Regions from separate parts of the Homo sapiens genome. Here region 2 is linked to region 1. Evidence: promoter capture Hi-C in 16 types of primary human blood cells and fetal thymus (Javierre and others, 2016). All regions are on one chromosome and are shown on one strand. Each heading gives the region's core, a stretch centred on a gene start or on the middle of the fragment in contact. The rest is flanking DNA. Distances are from core to core; before and after follow the strand shown. Region 1 holds the start of OASL (2'-5'-oligoadenylate synthetase like). Region 2 overlaps P2RX4 (purinergic receptor P2X 4).

Region 1 (3,567 bases), core at 755-3,254:
GTCCAGGTACATTTCTAACCTCTCCCCTGCTCACCCTTTCATCCCAAGGCACACAGCACACTTGAGTCCCTGGCATATCCTAGCATTATTTATACTTCTCAGCCTCTATGCTGTACCCTCATCCTCCTGGCTGGAGTGCCAGTCTTTTTTATTTTTTATTTGGAGACAGAGTCTCATGCTGTCACCCAGGCTGGAGTGCAGTGGCACCATGATAGTTCACTGCAGCCTGAAACTCCTAGACTCAAGTGGTCCTCCCACCTCAGCCTCCCAAGTAGCTGGGGCTACAGGTGGACACCACCACACCTAGCTATTTTTTAAAAAACTTTTTGTTTTTAAAACAAAAACTGGAGTTTTAAACTCCAGGCCACCACTGCCTCTCACCTGCACCACTGTGCAGTGTCCTGACCATCTCCCTACATCTGTTCTTGCCCTTGCAATCATCCTCACCACAGAAGCAGAGAAGTTACAAGTGTGGCAAAGGGCAGACCGGAATTCAAAGCCAATGTGGAGTGGGGAGTTGGATACATGAGTCTGGATTTCAGGGAAGAGGTATGGATTTAAGATACAAATGTGGGAGTCACTGGGTATGGTGGCTCACGCCTGTAATCCCAGCACTTTGGGAGGCCGAGGAGGGCAGATCAGGAGTTCAAGACCAGCCTGGGCAACATGGTGAAACACTGTCCCTACTAAAAATACAAAAAGTTAGCCAGGCGCGGTGGCGGGCTCCTGTAATCCCAGCTCCTTGGGAGGCTGAGGCACAAGAATCGCCTGAACCTGGGAGGCAGAGGTTGCAGTGAGCCGAGATTGTGTCACTGAACTCCAGCCTGGGCGAGACAGTGAGACTCCATCTCAAAAATAAACAAATAAATAAAAATAAAATTAAAATGTGGAAGTTGCCAGAGTAAAAACATTTAAACGCTGGCTGAAATCACCAAGGGAGTAAGTCTAGAACAAGAAGAGAAAAGGACCCAGGACTAAGCCCTGGAGCACTTAATATTATTCAGAGTTTGGGAAGTTGCAGGTGTCCAGCTATGTTGCCCAGGCTGGTCTTGAACTCCTGGCCTCAAGTGATCCTCTCACCTTGGCCTCCCAAAGTGCTGGGACTACAAGCATGAGCCACCATGCCCAGCCCGGATCCCCAGTCTTTAAGATTCCTCTCAAGCAGGTGTCTGCTAACACCAAATGAAACTCATCTGCCGGCTTCATGTTTTCATGCTTTTTTCCTACTTAACTCATCGCACTGGACTTTTGCAGTCTCTTTTTTCTGTGTCTCCTCCACCGTTCTGGGAGTCCCCTTGGAACAGGAACCTCATCTTATTTTGTCTTCTTGGCTCAATGCATGAACTTCTTGGTTCAGTGCGTGAATCATAATACCTGTTAAACCCACTCTATGGGCCGGGCGCGGTGGCTCACGCTGTAATCCTAGCACTGTGGGAGGCCGAGGTGGGCGGATCATTTGAGGTCAGGAGTTTGAGACCAGCCTGACCAAAATGGTGAGACCCCCGTCTCTACTAAAAATACAAAAAAAAAATTAGCCGGGCGTGGTGGCACATGTCTGTAGTCCCAGCTACTAGGGAGGCTGAGGCAGGAGAATCGCTTGAACCCGTGAGGCAGAGGTTGTAGTGAGCTGAGATTGCACCACTGCACTCCAGCCTGGGCAACAGAGCAAGACCCGGCCAAAAAAAAAAAAAAACAAAAAAACAAAAAAACCCACTCTATGAATAGTGAGGGTCAAAGAGGTTAGAGTCTGGCACAGGTAGACTAGAATTCCCAGTCTGTTCTCTTGGGCTCCAGATTCTCACTCCACCACCTGAACACTAGTGAGTCCCTTCCGTTCCCAAGCCTCAATTTCCTTAGACAGATGTAAGCAGTTGAATTGACTAACAACTATCCAACCCCAACCTACTGGGCAAGTTGCCTCCTTTGGGGTCAAACACTATCCAACTTCAGTTTCCCAACGTCATAAAGGAGAACTCTAAAAGTTGAGAATCGAAACTGATGACAGATTGACTAGACGGCCAGCCTGTTAAGGTGGCCCCAGATATTCCAGCCTCAGCCCAGAGTCCTCCTGTGCCCCTACTGCAGCAAGGGTGTCTCCAAGAAGGGGGACCTGGAGTCAGCCCGTCACACCTGGTTTCCTCTCTGCTAGGGTCCCTCCTCCCACAGAGCACTGGAGGGCAGCTGAGGAGGAGCTACCTTAAAAAAGGAGGTGTGTGCCAGGGAGCTGGGTAGGAGCCTGGCTATATATCTGCCCAGCAGCGGTACTCTCGGGACAGAGATGGCACTGATGCAGGAACTGTATAGCACACCAGCCTCCAGGCTGGACTCCTTCGTGGCTCAGTGGCTGCAGCCCCACCGGGAGTGGAAGGAAGAGGTGCTAGACGCTGTGCGGACCGTGGAGGAGTTTCTGAGGCAGGAGCATTTCCAGGGGAAGCGTGGGCTGGACCAGGATGTGCGGGTGCTGAAGGTAGTCAAGGTAAGACTGGGCTCCTCCAGCCCCCACGCAAGACAAAACCCAGTATCAGAGTCCACGTCCCTGGGGATGCTGGGGACCCCTGTCCTCCTTATCCCTAGCCCATGCTGATGACATCTCAGAATACCCCATCCCACCTAGCTGTCTACACCCCACTGCACCACTGCCTTGAGTAGAATGAGTCTAGTAATAATAGCTCACATTTGGGGGCTCACTGGACTAACCTCTTAACATACACTATCTCTAATTCTTGCACTCTGTGAGATAGGTACTATTCTTTGCCCAGTTTACAGATTAGCAAATGGAGGCTCAGAACCAATACAATGCGAGGTCCTTGGTTGGATCCTAGTGTGAATGAACCATCTGTAAAATATAGTTTGGGGACAACTGGCCTAGATATCAGATAGTACATATATCTGATATGGGAAATCATTGTTGATTTTGTTAGGTGTAACAGTAGTTTTGTGGTTATCAGAAGGTTGTCTTTTGTTTGGACACGAACACTGAAGTATTTTAGGGACAAAGTTCCTTGGTGCCTATAATTTACTTTAACGTGGCTTAGATTAAGCACATGTAGCCAGGAATTTAGACTTGTTGAATCAACTAGTTGGGTATATGAGTGTTAGTTGTATCATCTATTTTTCTATGTGTTTTAACTTTTTGATAATAAAATGACTTTTTTTTTTTTTAGAGACAGGGTCTCGCTCTGTCACCCAGGCTGGAGTGCAGTGGCACAATCACCACTCACTGTAGCCTCAATCTCCCTGAGCTCAGGTGATCCTCAGCCTCCTAAATAGCTTGGGATTACAGGCATGCACCACCATGCTCAGCTAATTTTTGTATTTTTTGTAGAGATAGGGTTTCACCAATGTTGCCCATGCTGGTCTCGAACTCCTGGGATCAAGAATATGCCCACCTTGGCCTCCCAAAGTGCTGGGATTACAGGTGTGAGCCACCATGTCTGGCCGGCCAATAAAATGATTTTTGTTTTTGTTTTTTTTTTTTTGAGACAGAGTCTTGCTCTGTCACCAGGCTGGAGTGCAGTGGCACGATCTCAGCTCACTGCAACCTCTGCCTCCCAGGTTCAAGCAATT
Region 2 (3,567 bases), core at 469-2,968, 200 kb before region 1:
CCCCTCACCCCAACACTGGCTTGCTTTCACATTTGTTTTAGAAAAGAGGCTAAACAGCATCTCCCCCACTTCGGAAGACAGCCAGTGACCATCACTCCTTGACGAGCAAGATCATAAACACACCCATTGCCCTTAAGTCTGTTTTGTGCTGCTGTTACAGGGACCTAAGACTGGGTAATTTATAAAGAACAATAATTGATTTCTCACATTTCTGGAGGCCAGGAAGTTCAAGATCAAGGTGCTGGCAGGTTTGGTATCTGGTGAGGGCTGCTCTCTGCTTCCAAGAGGGTGCCTTGGTGCCGCATCCTTTGGAGGGAGGAACACTTGTCCTCGCGTGGCAGACAGTGGCAAGGCAGACGGGGGATGAGCTCCCTCTCTAGCCCTCGTATAGGGCACCAACCCCATTCATGAGGGCAGCGCAATCCTGACTCAGTCACCTCCCCAAGGCTTCACCTCCCAATAAGGTTGCCTTGGGGATGAAGTTTCCAAAATGTGAATTTTGGTAGACACATTCAGCCCATATCACCATTCCTAAACATTCCAGCTTCATTTGACCCATGTGCCTAAGCAAGCACTTTTTATTTTTTCAGACAGGGTCTCACTTTGGTGCCCAGGCTGGAGTACAGTGGCACCATCATAGCTCACTGCAGCCTCAACCTCCTGGGCTCAAGTGATCCTCCGGCCTCAGCCACCCAAGTAGCTGGGACTACAGATATATACCGCCACACCCGGCTAATTTAATTTTTTGTAGAGATAGGGTCTCACCATGTTGACTGGGCTGGTCTTGAATGCCTACGCTTAAGTGATCCACCTTGGCCTCCCAAAGTCCTGGGATTACAGGCAACAAGCATTTTTTTTTAAAAGGCAGCATGAACCAGAGCTTCAATAAAGGGAGTTGGTAAACTTTTTTTTTTTTTTCCAAAAGCAAGAAAAGCCCAGGTTGGCCATTTATCCAGCAGAAGCAGAGTATTTGTAAAATAATGGTTCCTCTCAGTACTTGGAAGTGAATTCATGGCAGAGGCGAAGGGCAAACTGCTTCCTCTAGGGGGATTCTGAATACCTGATGCAGAATTCAGCTGGTGTGTGGCTGGGTGCAGTGGCTCACGCCTGTAATCCCAGCACTTTGGGAGGCTGAGGCGGTGGATCATGAGGTCAGGAGTTCCAGACCAGCCTGGCCAACATGGTGAACCTCTGTCTCTACTAAAAATACAAAAATTAGCTGGGTGTGGTGGCAGATGCCTGTAATCCCAGCTACTTGGGAGGCTGAGGCAGGAGAATTGCTTGAACCCAGGAGGCAGAGGTTGCAGTGAGCCGAGATCATGCCACTGCACTCCAGCCTGGGCAATAGGGCAAGACTCTGTCTCAAAAACAAAAAAACACAAACATTTAGTTGGTGTGAAGCTGCAGCTGGAAATAGCTTCATGAACATTTCGAACCTGTGCGGAGCTAGGTATGCGTGCTGCTGCTTTTGGTTGGAGACTTTTGGGAAGCAAACAGGGAAGGGAGAGGAAGCCACTTCCATGTTACCAAAAATTGTGTTACCCACAGCATAGAATTGTAATTTTATGTCAAAATGGAGGCACAGGTAAGATGTCACTAGAGAAAAAGTGTCCTGTGAACTGTGCAGGAAGACAAGCTAATGACAAATTATTAGGCTTTAAAAAGTAGGCAGCTGGGTGCAGTGGCTCATGCTTGTAATCCCAGCACTATGGGAGGCTGAGGTAGGAGGATCGCTTAAGCCCAGGAGGTGGAGACTGCAGTGAGCAGTGATTGCGCCACTGCACTCCAGCCTGGGTAATAAAAAAAATAAATAGGCCAGGTGTGGTGGCGCACACCTGTAATCCAATCACTTTGAGAGGCTAAGGCAGATGGATCATTTGAGGTCAGGAGTTCGAGACCAGCCTGGCTGGCCAATGTGGTGAAACCCTGTCTCTACTAAAAATACAAAAATTAGCCGGGCATGGTGGCATGCACCTGTAATCCCAGCTACTCGGGAGGCTGAGGCAGGAGAATCGCTTGAACCCGGGAGGCAGAGGTTGCAATGAGCCGAGATTGCACCACTGCGCTCCAGCCTGGGCGACAGAGTGAGACTCTGCCTCAAAAATAAAATAAATAAATAAAGAAGTAGGGGAAAATGTGCATAAGTGCCAGAAACAGACCATCCCATGGACCTTTTCTGAGCACAGTGAGCCGGAATAGTGGATTTACTGGTTGTCGTAAAAGGGTAGGAAGGAAAGTTCTAGCACATGCTATGAGACAACAGACAGGGATTAAGAAAATCACGCTTTAATGTCTGGTCCTCGATCACCTTAGCACAGCGCTTCTCTGAGGAGAAATGCCAGCTCTGCCGCATGGCTGCAGGGAATGGTCGGGGGGAAGCCTGCAGCCCAGGCCTGCTACAAGTCTAGTGACTGCAGCCAGGCGGCCTCCCCTGCCGCATAAAGTGCTTGAACAGAGCCGCCGTGCCTCAGAGGACTGGGCCTGTCCTGGAGAGAGCTGGAGACAGGAGGCTTCTGAGCAAAGCCAGCTCCAGCCCTGAAAGCCACAGCAGTGCCACTGCGTCGGGCCAGCGCTCCCCCGACAACCCCAGGTTGCGGGAAAAGCAGAGTTGACCCAGCCAAGAACAGACTGCTGACCTCCTGGGCCGAGTGGGCAAACAGATCCTGCACACAACACACAGGAGCTGCTGGGGAACCCTGAGTGCTTGTGGAGTGGAGACTCAATCAGATTCCAGAAATTTCTCTGGGGTGATGTGGTGGCCATTTCTCCCTCCTCCTCCTCTCTGTTCTTTGATGGGGCTGTGGAGAGCCCAGGTGTGGGGTAGGCCTCACTGGTCCAGCTCACTAGCAAGACCCTGCAAAGAAGGACACAAGCAGATCAAGGTGCCCCTGGGACCCCTTGTGGCAGGCGGGAGGGAGGTGCGCTCCTGGGACTTCACCGCCAGGGGTTCTCAAGTTGGTCCCAGGCCTGGAACCCAACCCTTCCTGTTCCGCAAGGTGCACTGAAGTAGTGTGTGCCCACAGGCATTCTCAGAGCATGCATTATCATCACCAACCTGAGATGTCGCTCATTGAAACGAGGCTGGGTTTAAAGAGTCAATCTAGTACAGGGGCCTAGGGATGGAGCAGCTGCTGAGAGTGGCAGGACTGCCCGGGTTAACGGGGACACCACGCCACACTGGTGCCAGCCTCTGCAGAAGGGCCTCCCCAGACAGGCCCACGCCCAGGGCTCCCACACCCAAGAGATGAGAGGCCTGTGCCTGCTGGGGGCCAGGAGGGGCCTACCTGCTCGTAATCTTCCACATATTTATATTTCTTCTCCCGATAGTAGAGTCTTTTCTTCATGCAGTAGAGGACTATGATGTCACACAGCACGGTCGCCTGAGTTTAGCATAGGGTGAGAGTGAGCCAGGATGCTTGCAACCCATCAACCCATCTTATTCTTTGCGTGCCCCTTCCTGAGAAGCCTGGAATCTTTACCGGAATGGAAAGGCACTCCCATCTCTTGGGAGAAGGCTGGGACCTGAGGGGGGTGGTCTTGGAGAAGGGAAGGTGGGAGGAGGGCTGG

What was found. Contacts are between HindIII fragments. The CHiCAGO score rates a contact against its expected background, and 5 or more counts as called.
Region 2: a contact is called between a fragment that was not itself captured here and the fragment with the promoter of OASL in region 1, in 3 of 17 cell types (M2 macrophages, erythroblasts and megakaryocytes). The highest score is 5.6, in M2 macrophages.

Annotation. Positions count from the first base shown.
Region 1 is chr12:121,037,683-121,041,249 of GRCh38, reverse strand. It overlaps OASL (2'-5'-oligoadenylate synthetase like), which reads left to right and starts at 2,004. Exons shown (of 6, transcript NM_003733.4): 1 at 2,004-2,476. The coding sequence starts at 2,279. RefSeq lists enhancers at 1,840-2,259, 1,839-2,338, 2,339-2,840. The HindIII fragment of the contact is 5,031 bases long and covers 1-3,567 here.
Region 2 is chr12:121,232,810-121,236,376 of GRCh38, reverse strand. P2RX4 (purinergic receptor P2X 4) reads right to left here. Exons shown (of 12, transcript NM_002560.3): 11 at 3,285-3,380; 12 at 2,271-2,854. The coding sequence ends at 2,828. Among named protein-coding and RNA genes, the nearest start is that of P2RX4, 24 kb to the right of the region's middle. RefSeq lists an enhancer at 2,008-2,635. The HindIII fragment of the contact is 6,150 bases long and covers 1-3,567 here.